Regions from separate parts of the Homo sapiens genome. Here regions 2, 3, 4, 5 and 6 are each linked to region 1. Evidence: promoter capture Hi-C in 16 types of primary human blood cells and fetal thymus (Javierre and others, 2016). All regions are on one chromosome and are shown on one strand. The core of a region is centred on a gene start or on the middle of the fragment in contact, and the rest is flanking DNA. Distances in the headings are between cores, read along the strand shown.

What was found. The method cuts DNA at HindIII sites, captures the fragments that hold promoters and counts their contacts. A CHiCAGO score of 5 or more calls a contact.
Region 2: a contact is called between a fragment that was not itself captured here and the fragment with the promoter of KCNMA1 in region 1, in 17 of 17 cell types (naive CD8 T cells, total CD8 T cells, endothelial precursors and 14 more). The highest score is 29.2, in naive CD8 T cells.
Region 3: a fragment that was not itself captured here is called in contact with the fragment with the promoter of KCNMA1 in region 1 in 11 of 17 cell types (naive CD8 T cells, neutrophils, total CD8 T cells and 8 more); the score reaches 13.9 in naive CD8 T cells.
Region 4: a fragment that was not itself captured here is called in contact with the fragment with the promoter of KCNMA1 in region 1 in 11 of 17 cell types (endothelial precursors, total B cells, naive CD8 T cells and 8 more); the score reaches 13.0 in endothelial precursors.
Region 5: a contact is called between a fragment that was not itself captured here and the fragment with the promoter of KCNMA1 in region 1, in 3 of 17 cell types (total CD8 T cells, M1 macrophages and M0 macrophages). The highest score is 6.4, in total CD8 T cells.
Region 6: a contact is called between a fragment that was not itself captured here and the fragment with the promoter of KCNMA1 in region 1, in 2 of 17 cell types (endothelial precursors and M0 macrophages). The highest score is 6.2, in endothelial precursors.

What each region holds. Positions count from the first base shown.
Region 1 is chr10:77,636,511-77,639,125 of GRCh38, reverse strand. KCNMA1 (potassium calcium-activated channel subfamily M alpha 1) reads left to right here and starts at 1,318. Exons shown (of 28, transcript NM_001161352.2): 1 at 1,318-1,861. The coding sequence starts at 1,484. The HindIII fragment of the contact is 4,792 bases long and covers 1-2,615 here.
Region 2 is chr10:77,188,924-77,191,538 of GRCh38, reverse strand. The region is part of intron 3 of KCNMA1 (potassium calcium-activated channel subfamily M alpha 1); the gene reads left to right. Among named protein-coding and RNA genes, the nearest start is that of KCNMA1-AS2, 49 kb to the right of the region's middle. The HindIII fragment of the contact is 1,549 bases long and covers 549-2,097 here.
Region 3 is chr10:77,209,021-77,211,635 of GRCh38, reverse strand. The region is part of intron 3 of KCNMA1 (potassium calcium-activated channel subfamily M alpha 1); the gene reads left to right. Among named protein-coding and RNA genes, the nearest start is that of KCNMA1-AS2, 69 kb to the right of the region's middle. The HindIII fragment of the contact is 8,406 bases long and covers 1-2,615 here.
Region 4 is chr10:77,274,734-77,277,348 of GRCh38, reverse strand. All of the region lies in intron 2 of KCNMA1 (potassium calcium-activated channel subfamily M alpha 1), which reads left to right. Among named protein-coding and RNA genes, the nearest start is that of KCNMA1-AS3, 75 kb to the left of the region's middle. The HindIII fragment of the contact is 6,121 bases long and covers 1-2,615 here.
Region 5 is chr10:77,318,902-77,321,516 of GRCh38, reverse strand. All of the region lies in intron 2 of KCNMA1 (potassium calcium-activated channel subfamily M alpha 1), which reads left to right. Among named protein-coding and RNA genes, the nearest start is that of KCNMA1-AS3, 31 kb to the left of the region's middle. The HindIII fragment of the contact is 3,327 bases long and covers 1-2,615 here.
Region 6 is chr10:77,370,470-77,373,084 of GRCh38, reverse strand. All of the region lies in intron 2 of KCNMA1 (potassium calcium-activated channel subfamily M alpha 1), which reads left to right. KCNMA1-AS3 (KCNMA1 antisense RNA 3) reads right to left here. Exons shown (of 6, transcript NR_126365.1): 4 at 138-238. Among named protein-coding and RNA genes, the nearest start is that of KCNMA1-AS3, 21 kb to the right of the region's middle. The HindIII fragment of the contact is 6,218 bases long and covers 1-2,615 here.

The sequences.
Region 1 (2,615 bases), core at 69-2,568:
CTATATGAGAGGAAAGCAACCCTTCAGGGAACTCTATTGTCTATCGGGGCCTGCACTATCCCCAGGCCAGGTCGTCCTTGATCATTTCTGCCTACTCTTTGTTGGGCAGCCTCTGTTGCTAATAAGGAAAAAGGAGAGAAACCACCTGCTGCTGTCAGAGGCCACAGACCACCCGCTGGCCTTCCTGACTCTACCCTCCAGCCACACGCGGGACCCTGGGCACATAGGTAGCAGGAAGAGCGAAGTAGGGGTGGGTAGCTGTGTGTATCCTGGCGTGGGGTCCTCCTCACTCCCGAAGCCCGAGGGTCCTGGGGAGCTCAGCCTGTGGAATCCAGTTGACAGCTGGCCACTCCTCCCCTCCCCACTGGGGGCTCTTTGGGGAAAAAAACGGCCTGACCGGGGCGCCCCGCCGTCCTCCCAGTGTACCCCACCGCTCTCGGCTGGGGGCGCAGCACCTTGGAGAGAGGCGCCTGGCCCCGCGCCTGGGCTGGGGGCGCTCTACCTTGCGCCCTGGGGGTCAGGGGCGCTTGCCGGGCCGCTGCCGAGGGGCCCTGCCCACCCCTGCCCAGCCCGGAGCCCAGGCGAGCCAGCGCGGCGAGCCTCCTCCCCTCCCGCCTGGGTCGTCCTGAGTCCGCGCCCGCTCCAGTTGCTGCAGCTGCTGCTGCTGGCGGCTGCGGGGAGCGCGGGGCGCGCGCCGAAGAGGCTTGGGCGGCGAGGACGGGGACGAGGAGGAGTCGGAGGCGGCAAGGAGGAAGAGCGAGCGGAGGCCGAGGGGCTCAGCGGCGTGGCGACAGGACTAGGGGGTCCCGAGAACATGGGCTAGCAGGCGGCCACGGGCCGGCGGCCGGACGCGGTGAACCTGCCGCGGCCGGGCGCGCACTGGCGCGGCGAGCCGGAGCCGAGCGCAGCCGGGGGAGGAGGGCTGGCGCAGGGGCGCCCGGGCGGAGGGGGCCGATTATCCATTATTAACGAGTTACCACCTAATAAGCGGAGAGCGGCTCGTTAGCCGCGCGGGAGGCGCTCGGGGAAGGGGGTCACCGGCCGAGCGCAGCGCACACCCGTGGCGCACGGCGGGCGGCGCGGCGCCGAGGACACCCGGGACCGCGCGCGGAGCCGGGGCGGGCCCGGGGGCGGCGCAGACCCCGGGCGCGGGCGGCCCGCGGCGCCCCCTGGCTCTCGGCGCTCGGGGCCAGCGCAGCCCGGGGCGAGCGGGGCGCGGGCCGGGGAGGGGGAGCTGCCCGCGCACTCCATCCCCCTCCCCCCCGGGCGGGCGGCGGCGGCTCGCTGTATATATCTCGGCGCACCCCGCCAGGTCGCGCACAGCGCCCCGAGCCCAGGCGCCTCCCCGCCCCCCTCCCGCGCTCCGCGGCGGCGGCGGCGGCGGCAGCAGTAGCAGCAATATGGCTGTTGATGGGTGTTTGGGGTGGCGCTGGCGGCGGGAGGAGCTCCCCCGAGCCCCTGCGCCGGCTGCCCGTTGCTAGCTATGGCAAATGGTGGCGGCGGCGGCGGCGGCAGCAGCGGCGGCGGCGGCGGCGGCGGAGGCAGCAGTCTTAGAATGAGTAGCAATATCCACGCGAACCATCTCAGCCTAGACGCGTCCTCCTCCTCCTCCTCCTCCTCTTCCTCTTCTTCTTCTTCCTCCTCCTCTTCCTCCTCGTCCTCGGTCCACGAGCCCAAGATGGATGCGCTCATCATCCCGGTGACCATGGAGGTGCCGTGCGACAGCCGGGGCCAACGCATGTGGTGGGCTTTCCTGGCCTCCTCCATGGTGACTTTCTTCGGGGGCCTCTTCATCATCTTGCTCTGGCGGACGCTCAAGTACCTGTGGACCGTGTGCTGCCACTGCGGGGGCAAGACGAAGGTAACGCGCGCCCCGGGCGCCCGCCCTCTGCGCCAGCCCCACCGCTTCTCGGCGTCCCCTGCAGCCCACCTCCTCGCTCCGCGCCGCGCCGTGCCTCCCTCCATCCCCGCCTGCCTTCCCCTCGCCGCCTTCCCTTCCCTCGGCTCTCCCGGTGCTCTCGGATCGGGGCAGCGGGCGGCGCGCCGGGGGTGAGGAGTTGCCCCCAGCCAGTGCGCTCCGGGACGCGGACGCTCAATCCTGTCCTCTTGTTTATTGTAGGGTTGTTGGCGGCTGCGGCTGGGGCCGGGGTCGGGGACTCACAGGCTCGGGTGCCGTGGTGCGGGGTGGGGACAGCCAACTCAGCGGGGACGGAGGAAGCTGGGGGCAGCTGGGTGCGTGTTTTGCACCGCTCACCTGCCGGGGCTCGGCTCCTGGCGGTGGGCGAGAGGGAGCACATCCGCCCATACTTTAGGAACCTGTTGGGGAGATGAGTTCGTGGGGTCAGAAAGAAGGGAAAAATCCTTTGGGCAAGGGAGAGAATAATTTTGCACAAGGGAATCCCGGGGGAGGAGCATGGCCCGAGATAACAGGGGGACTTCGAGGGGCGAGAGAAGTTGGGGAGATCCATCCCACTATTGGGGGTAGCCCACGGGGCTGCCACTTTTGGAATGTGTCGAGGTCGCATATCTGATGTAACCTCCCACTCCGTCCCTTAGGTGCTCTAGTGGAACATACCCCAAGTTCTTCGGCCTCTGTTCCTTTGCCCCCAGGCCAC
Region 2 (2,615 bases), core at 74-2,573, 450 kb after region 1:
CAGTGTAAACATGAGAAGAATCGATATTAGAAAGATAAACTCTTAGGTACACAGCTCTGATAAGATAAGTAAAATGGCAGCATGAAGAAAACCAAAAGAATACAAAGCTTTCAGCTTGGATCCCGTCAGGTTCAGGGCAGTCTTGGGGTGTTGTCCCAAGTTCAGGAGAAAATGTTCTATATAAATATTATTGCTTTCTCAATGATGAATTCATATCATGTCATTCACACTAAATCCATTATTGTTATTAGCTCACAAAATATTTTTCTGTGATCTTAAATTTTATGAATAATAATATCAGTTTCTAATTTGAAGTACATTGCAAAGACTTGCCTCCTTTTAAAATTAGTCTGTCTCATAATATTCTGGCTGGCTAGATGCTTTTATTCCAGTGTAGGCAGTTTATCCAGGATATCCAGAGGTAGCCAGGAAAGCTTCAAATCACTTAGACCTACTCTCTTGGTTATAGATAGATTCCATAAAAATCCATATCCATATGATATCATCTTTTTTATTTATTTTGATTGGATCAAATGGGATGCAAAGCTTATTAATCATCTAGTTCATAATTAAGAGTCTTCAGAGTGTCTAAGTATTATCAGCTTTCATTATCTTCATCCTTGTTCTCCTAGAATAGGAGAGGGTGAGGGAAAATTGGGCCACTTGAAGGGTCATTCATCTTTAATCAGTTGGATAACTAGGAGTTATCCCTCTATAAGCAGAAGAACTTCCCCTCAGCCGATGGGATCAGTCTTCCTGATACCACCACCCCACACGGGGTCCCAGAGAGGACTTCTGGGGATTATTAGTGTCCCACATGACAGTCTCTACAGAGCAGGGTTAGGGTTAGGTACAGGTTGAATACATCTGCTTCCTCTGCATTTTCCTAGACCACCCAACAGACACATCAGTTATTTTCTAGGGCAGTTTGTCCTCCTCTATGAAGGATTTATGAATCAGTCAACCCCCATCATTTTTGCATGAGCCCCAGGCGAGGCTCTGTAGATAGCAGACACTATGTCTTATGCTTCCTCTTCCTCTCCAAGAAGGCTGCACTCCATCTGGAGAGGAAGTGGTATGGCACAAGGCTAGTGGGTCTCTATCCTAACTCTACCACATAGCTGCAGGGTCTTGATTGGATATCTGAGCCTCTGCTTCTCTGTCTGTAAAATGGGGATTATAGTACAATATCTACTTTATTCTGCCATTTTGTGAGGACCAAATGCAATAGCATATGTAAATTTTATACAATTGTCAGGTATTATTACATTGAATTGAAGAATAATTGAATATGAACATAATGAGGCAGTTTAGAATTTTTTTCCTCCCAGTAGCATGGGAATTCAGAGATGGGAGAGGTCAATGAGGGCACAAGTAGTTTGCTGAATCAAGCCTGGAGGTTGGCCTCGAAGACTGCCCAAGGTTTGAACACAAAGAGTAATCAGCAGTTGAAGAGGCCACAGAGAAGGCATAGATTTAAAATTAGGGAATACATGGGTCACATTCATGAAATAATGAAGGCAAGGGTTTGGACTGAAACATAGTAGAAAATAAAGTAAGAGATGTAGAATGAGTTTAGGTTTTAGAAATTCTTCCTAGCCAGGCTTAGAGTTACTATATGAAACAGGCAGGGACCGTGATGGTGGATGAATGACATTTTTAATTAAATTAATTTGGCAACATTGCAGAGGTGAGACTAGGAAAAGAGTCTAGAATCATTAGGCTTATTGCATTGACTCATGTCTGTGGTGCTGTGGGCCTGAACTCTGCCTGTCCATAATCCTGGTGGGAATTGAGAGGGCCCCATTCAATTTAGAAAGGGACTAGCCACAAGAGTGAGGAGAATTTGAACGTTGGAAATTATTTCACAAAATGATATCTTGTTCCTCAGCCAGTCCCGTCCCTAGTAAATCATCTTGGGTGTGTGTTATTGTTGTTGTCATTCTTAAGCTACTTACCATTTCTTTATCCCTTGTAAATGATGGTCTCCGTAACCCCTCCCCATCTGTACTTCATCATTTTTCCTTTTAATCTTAATCTAAAATGTGCTCAGCAGGTACTCTCTGATTGTTAATTGGAACGTCCACTGGTGAAGCTTGCACAGTGGCATTGCAATTGCTTCCCTGTATCTTTTTAATTTTTTCACCCCCTTGTTCGCATCTGAAACAGAAAATGTCTGTTCAACCCCTTGATCCCAGCAATTAGCTAAGTGGTAGGCAGCTGGTTATCTGGGGGCTGGCTCAAACACTGAATCATCTCTGTTCAGGTCTGAATGGGAAGCTTCTCGAGCAGCAACACCTATAATTAGTGTGTAGTTGCAAGAAAGGTTTTTTGGGAGTGGCAGGTCTCAAAGCGGTGTTCCCAGATAAGCAGCATCCCCATTATCTGGGAAACTGTAAGAAATGCAAAATCTAGGGCCCCCACCCCAAACCTACTAAATCAGAAACTGGGGATGGAGCCCAGCAAGATTTTAACAAGCCCTCCAACTGCATGCCAAAGTTTGAGAACCACTACCCTGGAGAAGTAGCTTCACAGGGTTCGGCAGCCAGACTCAGGGAGGTGGGAAAACAGACTGCAGGAAACCCAGGGAAGTTTAGAGGCTGTGAGGAGCGGGT
Region 3 (2,615 bases), core at 46-2,545, 430 kb after region 1:
TGTGCAAAAGCTCTTTAGTTTAATTAGGTCCCACTTGTCAATTTTTGTTTTTGTTATAGTTGCTTTTAGGAACTTAGTAAAAAATTCTTTGCCAAGGCTGATGTTGAGATGGGTATTTCCTAGGTTTTCTTCAAAGATTTTATAGTTTGAGGTCTTCTATTTAAATCTTTAATCCATTTTGAGTTAATTTTTGTACATGGTGAAAGGTAAGAGTCCAGTTTCATTCTTCTACGTATGGTTAGCCAGTTATACCCACACCATTTATTTAATAGAGAGTCCCTTCCCCACTGCTTGTTTTTGTCAGCCTTGTTGAAAATCAGATGGCTCTAGATGTGCGGCTTTATTTCTGTGTTCTCTGTTCAGTCCCACTGATCTATATGTCTGTTTTTTTTACCAATACCATGCTGTTTTGGTTACTGTAGCCTTATAGTATATTTGAAGTCAGGTAGTTTGATGCCTCCAGCTTTGTTGGTAGTTTGATGCCTCCAGCTTTGTTTTTTTGTTTTTGTTTTTGTTGTTTAGAATTGCTTTGGCCACTCAGGCTCTTTTATGGAGTCATATGAACTTTAGAATAGTTTTTTCTAATTCTGTGAAGAATGTTATTGGTAGTTTGATAGGAATAGTGTTGAATCTGTAAATTGCTTTAGGTAGTATGGCCATTTTAACAATATTCAGTCTTCCTATCCATGAGCATGAAATGTTTTTCCATTTATTTGTGTTGTCTCTGACTTCTTTCAGCAGTGTTTTGTAGTTCTCCACATAGAGATCTTTCACTTCCTTTTTTAGCTGTGCTCCTAGGTATTTTATTTTCTGTGTGGCTATTGTCAATGGGACTGTGTTCTTGATTTGACTCTCAGCATGGATGTTGTTGGTGTGTAGAAATGCTACTGATTTTTGTACATTGATTTTGTATTCTGAAACCTTGCTAAAATCATTGATCAGTTATAACAGCCTTTTATAAGAATCTTTAGGGTTTTCTAAGTAAAGAGTAATATTATCAGTGAAGAGAGGTAGTTTGACTTCTTCTTTTCCTATTTGGTTGCCTTTTCTTTCTTTCTCTTGCCTGGTTGCTCAGGCTAGGACTTGCAATGCCATATTGAATAGGAGTAATGAGAGCGGGAGTCTTTGCTTTGTTCCTCTTCTCAAGGGGAATGCTTGTAGCTTTGCCCATTCAGTATAATGTTGGTTGTGGGTTTGTCATAGATGGTTTTTATTATTTTGAGGTATGTTCCTTTGATGCTTACTCTTTTCAGAGTTTCTATCATGAAGGGATGTTAGATTTAATCAAAATCTTTTTCTGAGGCTATTGAGATGATCATGTGTTTTTGCTTTTAATTCTGTTTATAATGCTAATCGCATTTATTGATTTGCATATACTGAACCAACCTTGCATCCCAGGGATAAAGCCTACTTGGTTTGTGGTGAATTAACTTTTTGATGTGCCACTGGATTTGATTTGCCAGTATTTTATTGAGGATTTTTGCATCTATGTTCATCAGGGATATTGGCCTAATGTTTTTCTTTTTTTGTTGTGTCTCTGCCATCTTCTGGTATAAAGATGATGCTGGCTTCATAGAATGCATCAGGGAGGAGCCCTTCCTCCTCAGTGTTTTGGCATAGTTGCAGTAGGATTGGTACCAGTTCCTTGCACATCTGGTAGAATTTGGTTGTGAACCCATCTGGTCCAGGACTTTTTTTTTTTTTTTTGGTTGGTAGGTTTTTTTTAAATTACTGATTCCATTTCAGAGCTTGTTATTGGTCTGTTCAGGTTTTCACTTTCTTCCTGGTTCAATCTTGGGAGGTTGTGTGTTTCCAGGAATTTATCTATCTCCTCTAGATTTCCTAATTTATGTGCATAGAGGTATTCATAATAGTCTTCGAGAATCTTTTGTAATTCTGTGGGATCAGTTGTAATGTCATCTGTGTCATTTCTGATTGCACTTATTTGAATCTTCTTTTTTTGTTAATCTGGCCAGCTGTCTAGCATTCTTGTATATTCTTTCGAAGAGCCAACTCTTGGTTTCTTTGATATGTTATATGAAAAAAGGTAGTACAATATATTTTAATGTGGAGAACAGAGTCCATGTTAAGGTTCAAATTTATGATTCTCCCTTGGATTAGTTTCCTAAACCCCTTTTGAGTTTGTTATCTGAACCTAGAACTTCAGAGCCAGTACTCTATCATGTTCTGTTCCAGCAAAATTTGCAAGACCAAAAATTAATAGGTGAGAAACCAAGAATTTGGTACATGAATAAATGTCATACTCTATTGTTTTTCTTTTCCATTACCTCAGGTTATTGGGTAGCTTTGATCTGAGGTGCCTATAAGAATTCAATTAGGGCTGTGTCACAGGTGTGACCATTTTTTTTCCTATGAAGACATTGTAGAGGGTGGTCTTTTTCTGGAGAACAGGTTTTCTCTGTTGTAACTCCTAGAGGTAAGAAAAGAACAGTGATAGCTCCCCTAGGCTGAGTTCACTCAGCTGCCTCTGTGCCTGGAGAAAGGACTAACCCAGAGCTTCTAGAGAGGAGAGGCGAAGAGACAGCTCTGTGGAGGCGGGAATGTGCACACATCTGGGAGAGTGGGCATGCTACACTTGCACTCTTCCAAAGAGA
Region 4 (2,615 bases), core at 34-2,533, 360 kb after region 1:
TGGTGCAGCCTCTGCATTTTGCATTAGTTGACCTCTTTATGGTAAGGGGCCAAGTCTGAACCCCAGGGAGCTGAGGCCCAGGAATGCTCCTTCTCATTAGAGTTTGGCCTGGAGGTATGGTCCTGAAAACTTTGCAGGTGAGCCCTGTTAGTGGCTCCTCACCCCTTCTTCTCCTCCCTTGAAGGAGGGAGAGCTTCCCCCAACCATGCTGGGAAGGCAAAGCTCTCTTAAGGCAACGACCACTTGCTGAGCACATCTCAGGGCAGAGACAATGAAGAGAAGGCATGAACCACACAGCCAGCTGACATCTCAGGAAGGTGTGGGAGTTTGAAGAATCCCCGCTGTGTGTCATTTACTGGCTACAGGACATTGGGAGAATTACCTAACAGCCCTGGGCCTCAGTTTCCTCAGCTATAAAGTGGGGATAATAATAATAGAACTATCTTCTAAATTTTTTGTGGGGATTAAATGGGGAAATATAAGTAAAATATTTAGAATAGTGCCTGGCACAAAATATGTACCATATTTTGTTTGCTATTAATATTTTATAGTATTATTCATTTATAATATGATAGGTTATGTAGTGTGTTTGGCTATTATAAATATATTGTGTGATTAGTATATTCTCAAGCCAGGCCCAGTCCCCAGCCTTTAGAAACCCACTCCCTGGGGATCTGGTTCAGGGTAGTTACTGGGTCAATCTGTGTATGAACAAACCTCACGCATAATACAGACATCTCGAATTGAGTACCTGCTGAGCCTGGATCTGTGTTGGTAACTTCACATCCATGATCCACAAATGTCTGACATTTATTTTAGAGGTGAAGAAGTTGAATACCAGAGGGTTAAGTGACTTCCGCAGGGCCACACAGCAAGGTTAAAATTAGGTCCCCTGACGCCAAGCCCCTCTCTGTGATCAATGAGTGTTTCCTGATGTCTGCAGTATGCCCTTTGCTGTGGGAGGCACTCTAGGCAGTTATTCCTGAACTGGCTCAAGATTCTGAGTTTGCAAGTCAGGGATTAGGCCTAGGCATCTACCTGTTAGCAGGCCCCTGCAGGAACTTCCAGAGCAGATGGCCTCAATGGCCCAATGGAGACACAATGCTAGAAGGTAGACGAAGGATGGTCTCAGCTCCTGAGGAGTCTTATTACAGAGGTGATCATCAAATTACATGAAAATGCCCAGCAGGTGCTGATTCTGTGCGTGTCTGTGAGGCTCACTCTGAGATGCAGCAGCCTGGTTAAGCGGAGAGGACTGTGGTACTCATGTTGACTCAGCTTAGGGAATTAAGATGCCCTGTGAATGTGGAGAGGTGGGGCAAGGGCAAGGAAGGGGGGACACCGTTTGAGGAAGGTTCAGAGGCATAAAGAACTTGACATGGGACAGGGCTGGTGAGGATTCCCTCTGGGACATTTCCCCCATCTTCCTAGTGAAGACCCATCCTGCAAAATCCGTGGATGGAAAGCAGCGGGCATAACCTCCCAGGGTGGATTACATAACTGGGCTGGGCCTTGGCTGGGGCTGGGCCTCCCTTGCCATCCTTTTCTCCTGGTTCTCAGGTCCTGTGCTCCTCTCATCTACCTCTCTACCTCCTGCTGAGCAGTGATGGTGGAGCAGGGCAACCTGCTCACAACTTCCTGCAGGAGTGGATGATGTGCATGTGTTTTGTGGGGTCTGTTGTAGTCTTATGTCTTTTGCCTGTGAGTGGTTAGGCCAGCTGTGCCCTCACTAGGGGAGCAACAATTGGGACTATGGCAATGGAAGGCAGACCCTGTGGGCTTTTGGAACTTCCTTCTTTTTCACCCATCCTCCTAATTTTGCTTCTGTCCATAACACACAATAGGGCGTTGGACAAGTCAATTCCTCTCTGGGTCCCAGTTTTCTCCTCTAAAATACAGGCTTACGACTAGGTGACCTTGCTTCCTTCTCAAAGTAACATTCAATGACTTTTTTGAACCCAATCTTTGGAACCCCTCTTGGTGTTCTGTTCTTTTGGCTTTGAGAAGGCTTCCTCCTCCTGTATTAGACAGATACTGGAGTAAGAGCCCAGGTTTTCTGGGTACATTTTCCTTTAAACCTCCAGGCAAACTGGAGCTAGTCAAGACATCAGAAAGAGTATCCTGAAGCTCAGGGTTGTGCTTTCAGATCCTACCTCACAAATATTCAGTTGGTATAGGCTCTCTGAGGTCTAAGCTGTCCAAATAAGAAGGATCTGCCTTCTGTGTGGTTGATCCAGTTGCCCATGAAGGAGACTCTGAAAAGAAAAGCCCCTCCACACTCAAGATAATGATTGCCAAGGTTTTGCACTAAAAGCACACATCTGCCTGGGACTTTATGAGTGATGGCTGTGTGTTAGCTGCAGGAGGCAACAGGAGGCAATCTGCCCGAATGGTGGACACCATGGCCAGCCAAGGCTGCCCCATCTCGGTCTTCATCACTTCCCTTCTCAGTTTCTCTCCCCACAAAACTCACCATGAGATGGCTTCTGCGGCAGTGAGGTTTACCATCCAATAGAAAGAAAACCCATGGCAGTTGGCTAACCGACCAAACTTACTCCATTTCCTCTGACAATCGATAGTTATTAATCACCTACATTCTCCAGAAGGCTGTAAAC
Region 5 (2,615 bases), core at 48-2,547, 320 kb after region 1:
AGAATTAATTGATTAATAACAAGCTGTGACCTGTGTGTGTGGTTTTACTGACAATATCCTCAGGACTTGGGCTTCTTGGAGCCATGCTTCTGTCAGTGGGAAAAGTGCTTTCATCTTTAGAGAATGTTACCACTAAGCAGAGTTACCTAATCTGATGCTTTCTCCTCTGGGTATGGCAGAAGTCGCTTACTTGAGAATGGATACTGATATGTTATTTTTGGAGCTGTATTTAGGGGATTTATTTGGCACATGTGGTATATATTATAGAATGGCATGTAGGGTGAAGCCACGGACTCCACAAAGAGCCTTCTGTCCATTATGATCTGTTGCATACTGAAAATTTCCACTCTGAGTAATGCATATCTTTACACTAAACATACATCATTCCCAGAAGTTGTTTGATTAAATATAAACATCTTGCCTAGGGAAGGCAAAATATTAAGCTGCTAGAGTACATTTGGAATTTTCTTAGAAAGGCCCTGAAAGAATAGGATACAAGTCAGACATATTTTGATGGGGGATGTGAATGAGGGAGATGAACCACTGAGGACAGAGTCTTGAATGAGCAGAACATTGTAGTGGAGGAGCCGTCAGCTCAACAGCACAGATTCCTGGAGGTGGACAATGACGTAGGTTCCAGGGATAAAAGATTTGGATTTGTTCAGGACAGGCCGTGAGTGCCTGCCTTGGTGTGTTATAAAGATCCTATGTGGTTGGTTTCTTTAACATTCAACACAGGATTCTCGAATATTTTAGAAATGTGCTTGGGTTTTTTTCTGTAACTCCTAGGCTAGAGTTACATCATATCATATTTAGTTCAATGTGTCTGCTGTTCTCAAGTGTGGTGGTGCTGGCAGGTAACAACGAGGAAGAAGTGAGGCAGGGCTCAAATTGGGGAATACATACCTGTGTGCATCCTGGCCCAGGGAGTGGGCTGAAAGGAGGGCAGGAGTGGACTGGCCTGCTCAGGCTCCCACACCTGTGTGGCAAGAAGGGTTTGACCCAGAGAAGCAGAGCACCGAGAGCCACAGAAGCTCCCTCTTCCTTCTTTGAGTGTGCCTAGGGTCTCAGCCTCAGCTTTGGCACCCAGAGCCACATTCCAATTAGGTTCTTAGGGGAGTAGCCCCTTCCTTCCTTGCAGAGAAACCTGCATGAAAGTTTGGGGGACTTCACTTTCTTCTTGAAGACATCTTATGTCCAAATTAATGCTACTATTTCCTGTGTCTCCACTGTTTTGACACTTACCTTTTTCATGCACTTCCCAGAGCATATTTCTTTTGTGCCAGACACTCTTTCCCCAGAATTCTTTCCCCAGAATTCTTCTCCACCATTTTGTTTAGAAAAAATATGTTGATGAGTCTCATGGAGTAAGGGGTAAGACCTCAAGGAAAATGCTCCACCATCAAAAGATGCCATAACTTTCCATCCACAGAGTGTAGATTGTGTTACCTGGAGAATCTTTTGTTTGGTGAGTGCCCACCTTGGTTTAGTGTGAAAGTCTGACTGTAGGTCAGAGCAAAGCAGAATTGTTCTGCTTCGAAGAGGGCAGTATCAGTCAAGTGAGGCCATGCTCTGCTACAGTAACAGACAGCCCCCACAGTGGCATAACACAAGAAAGGTTTATTTCTTGCTCAATACAGTATATATCAGTCATGAAGGTAGGAGGCCAGTAGGAGGGTGGAGGCTGTTCATCAGAGTCACTCAGCAAACCAGATTGATGGAAACTTCCTCTTGGTCTTTGCTTCCAGCACCGTCTTGGCAGGAGGCAGTGGTGAACTGCTCTGGCTAAGAGCTTCCATCCAGAAGTGTCACGCATCATGTGGCTCATGTTACATTGGCTAGAGCAAACCACTCAGCACTCAGCCACACTTAACTTTAGGAAACTAGAAAGTGCAATCCTACAATTGCCCAGAAAGAGGACGTAATAGGAGTATTTGTGAATATCCTTAATGACATCTACAAGGGGTGAAGACTGCTCTAGTGAAAAGGTGAGGCTTTTGGAGGGCGAGTGAAGGACTTGGGCTTCTTGGAGCCACCTTTCTACCTCAAGGAACTCTGTGGGAAAAGGTCAGGGAAGGAAATCCTTGGTTGTGCTTTGGCCTGGAAGGAACTAAGGCAAACTCAAAATCTGTTAGAGCATTTGCCATGAGATATGTGATTTAAATTCCTTTTCTGCCTTACCTGTGAAATCTTCAACAGTCTGTGTTGTTCCTTTTTGCTTGTATCTGGAGCAATGGCATGGGGTGGTGATGGGGTGGGATGAGGGACAAGAGGGAGAAGCTCAAAAAAGTGTAACCTTCAGGATGAAAGTTATTCAGGGCAAAACAAGATGCTGTATACATGGGCCTAGGCACTGGAGAAGCCAGAGACAGCTGACACCTGAGTTAATGTACCTGTTATTTTTCCTCCTAGCTTATAAATTCCTCAAGGTCAAGGATGGTTTCTTATTTATATGTATGTTCTCCGCAGAGCCCAAAACTACTCTGGCCTCAGTAGGTGCTCAATTGCTTGAGGCATGTTTGTGGGTGAATGAATAAACAAATGCACTTCTGCCTCCTTCTCTTGTGTGCCAAGGCTTGCAGCGGGCCAGCAGCCAGGGGAGGATGTGGGGTGGG
Region 6 (2,615 bases), core at 75-2,574, 270 kb after region 1:
AAACTTTGAGATTATCTTTTCTCCTGAACAGAAAACATTTGTATTTCTACTAGGCAAAATCCTACACATTAATGTGTAACTTCACATAATCTGGCTATTTAGTTGGTAGCAAATATCAAGTCAACAAAGGTACTTACTTTCCTCTAGGTAATTAAATATTTCTTGGGCAGGCTGTTAAACATTGCTCCACAGATGACCTTGAAAGGACATGACACATTTCCATTCCATTGCTTGACCCCTGCTAATAGAACCAAGTCTTCTCACCCAAGCTGCTCCTCTCTTCCTCTTCCATCTCTCTGCTGCATGCAGGGAGCCTGGTGCCTTGCTTCCATTTTCTCATTGGAAAAATGAGGGCCATAATACTTGCCTTCTCCACCAGACTAATTATGTCCAGTTATGACTTGGGGAACCAGGCAAGCGCATGGAAGAAGATCACACAATCCTGGATCCGGAAGACCTTGGCATCCAAGGGAAAAACAGGTGTGGGCAAACAATTGCACCAACATTTGGCAATGGCTGTGGCAGGCAAGAGCAAAGGACTGCGGCGCCTAGAGAGAGGAGTGACTTGGCTGAGTAAAGGAAGAGAAAAAGATTGAGAGAGGAACACTGAACTGGGATTTCCAAGACCCGTAGATCTGTTGGTGAAAAGGGAGAAGGGCATGGTCAGCCTGGTGAACTGCAGATGTTAAGATATAGGGACTAAAAAGTAAGGCACTTTCCATTTAATGTGCATATGCTGAGCTTTTGTTATGTGGCAGGTTCTGTGTTTAGCCCTGGGGAGTGGCAGCGATGGGAACAATCGTGGGCAAAACAGGAAACAAATTCTAGTCCTTTTGGAGTGATTCCAGGAGGATGGGGGTTTGGGTGGATTTGAGAGGGGAACAAGGGAAGTGGAGTGGAGGCAAAAGAGGCTGGAGAGACTGGTCTTGCACTGAGTGATGATATGGTTGATAGCTCCTGACCAAACAATTAATCTTTGTTCAGAACTTTCCCTTTGGAAAGTCTGTGGCTGCCTTCTGGGGAAGGCAAACAAATGTGAACTCAAGAAGTTTACAATTTAGCTAGGGAAACAGGATGTGCAAACAGGAAGAACCAACTATGTGAAGGTAGGTAAGATAACTGTTGACTCCATGCTTTAAGGAAAGGAGAGCTCTTTGTGGCTTGGGTGGTCAGCAAGAATTTTTTAAGCAGAGATACTCTTGATTGGGTTGGATAAATAAAAGAGCAAGGAGGACATTGTAGGAGGGGAATTGCTCCCAGCAGAGCCTAGAAGCAGAGAGATTTTCCAGGGTTCCCAGGAGAAGAGATTGAATAAGTGCAGTGGGCCATGTGGTGACACATCTTGAGTGTCCAGCTGGAGAACTGGAAGTGCATATCATAACAGGGGTGGAAAACTCAGAGGTTGATAGGGAATGGTGAGGTTGCAATGAGGGGACCGGTGGGGACTTTGACCAGTGGAGCAAGAGTCTTTCCAGATGAAGGGAGCAGCTGCCTCACAGCTCTGGCCAGCTGTGGACATTTGGCCAGTTTGTAATTTGTCAAAAGAAGTCAGAAATCTGCATTGTTGTGAAATCTCCAGATTTTTTACATGTTGTCAATTTAATTAAAATATTAAAATCAGCCCAGGGGTCAAGACTGCTGACCCATGCATGGGGCCTGGGGGGAAACTTGTGGGGCTCCAGCTTGTGGCTTCTCTGTTGGCGGTGCAGCTGTTGAAGATTCCTACACACAGGTGCCACAGGGGAAGATGGCACAGGAAAGGAGTGTGGACCTGGAGAATCAAGTAAGGAGCAGGCAGCAACTGAGGCAGGGCCATATGCAACTGTGGCCAGGGGTCACATATCATACTGAGCAGAGTTCACCTTGCCCGAGAACCACAAACCCAGGACAAATAGAAGGGAAACAAAATAAAGGAAAGGGAGCCAGCGTGTCTCGTTCAGTGTTGGGTAAGTAGTATGAATTTGGTTTGTTTTCCTGGCTGTCTTTAAAGAACGCTGGGCGGTGCTAGCCTGTATTTCTGATGAGAGGAAGGGGATTTAACCTGTGGTTCAAGTGCACTTATTTGGATAGCTCAGAGTCTTCATATGGTGTTGTTGTGCAAAGAGCACTGGACTAGAAGTTGGGAGACCTGGATTACAGGAATGACTGGTGTTAGCTGAGTGCCCCACTGTGTATCAGGTATTTTGTGCACATTTTCAGTAATTCTCCAAACAACCCTGTGAAGTAGAGGGCACTGTGACTCTACTTTTTCAAGGTCAAGGTCACAGAGTTGGTCAATGCAAGGCTGGGATTGGAATGAGACTTCAAAGGCCAAGTCTTTTCCAGTAGACCCCGCTACTGCACTGGCCTATGCTGAGTCTCTCCACATGCTCCATGTTACCTGTTGTGTGAACTTGGATAGGTCATCTACCACAGAGGAGCAAGAGGGGAAACTTCTTCAGGGTTTGCTTGGTCCAGTCTCAACATGCTGTGGTTCTGCAGTTGAGATGCATGTTGAAATGCATTTCATTTGTATGTTGACTTTTTTTATTCTAAAGGTCTTTGGATGTTTAATTTCAAACAAAGAGCTAGAGATTGGAGAGGCATCAATCTCAAACAGGCAGCGGCAGGGGTGT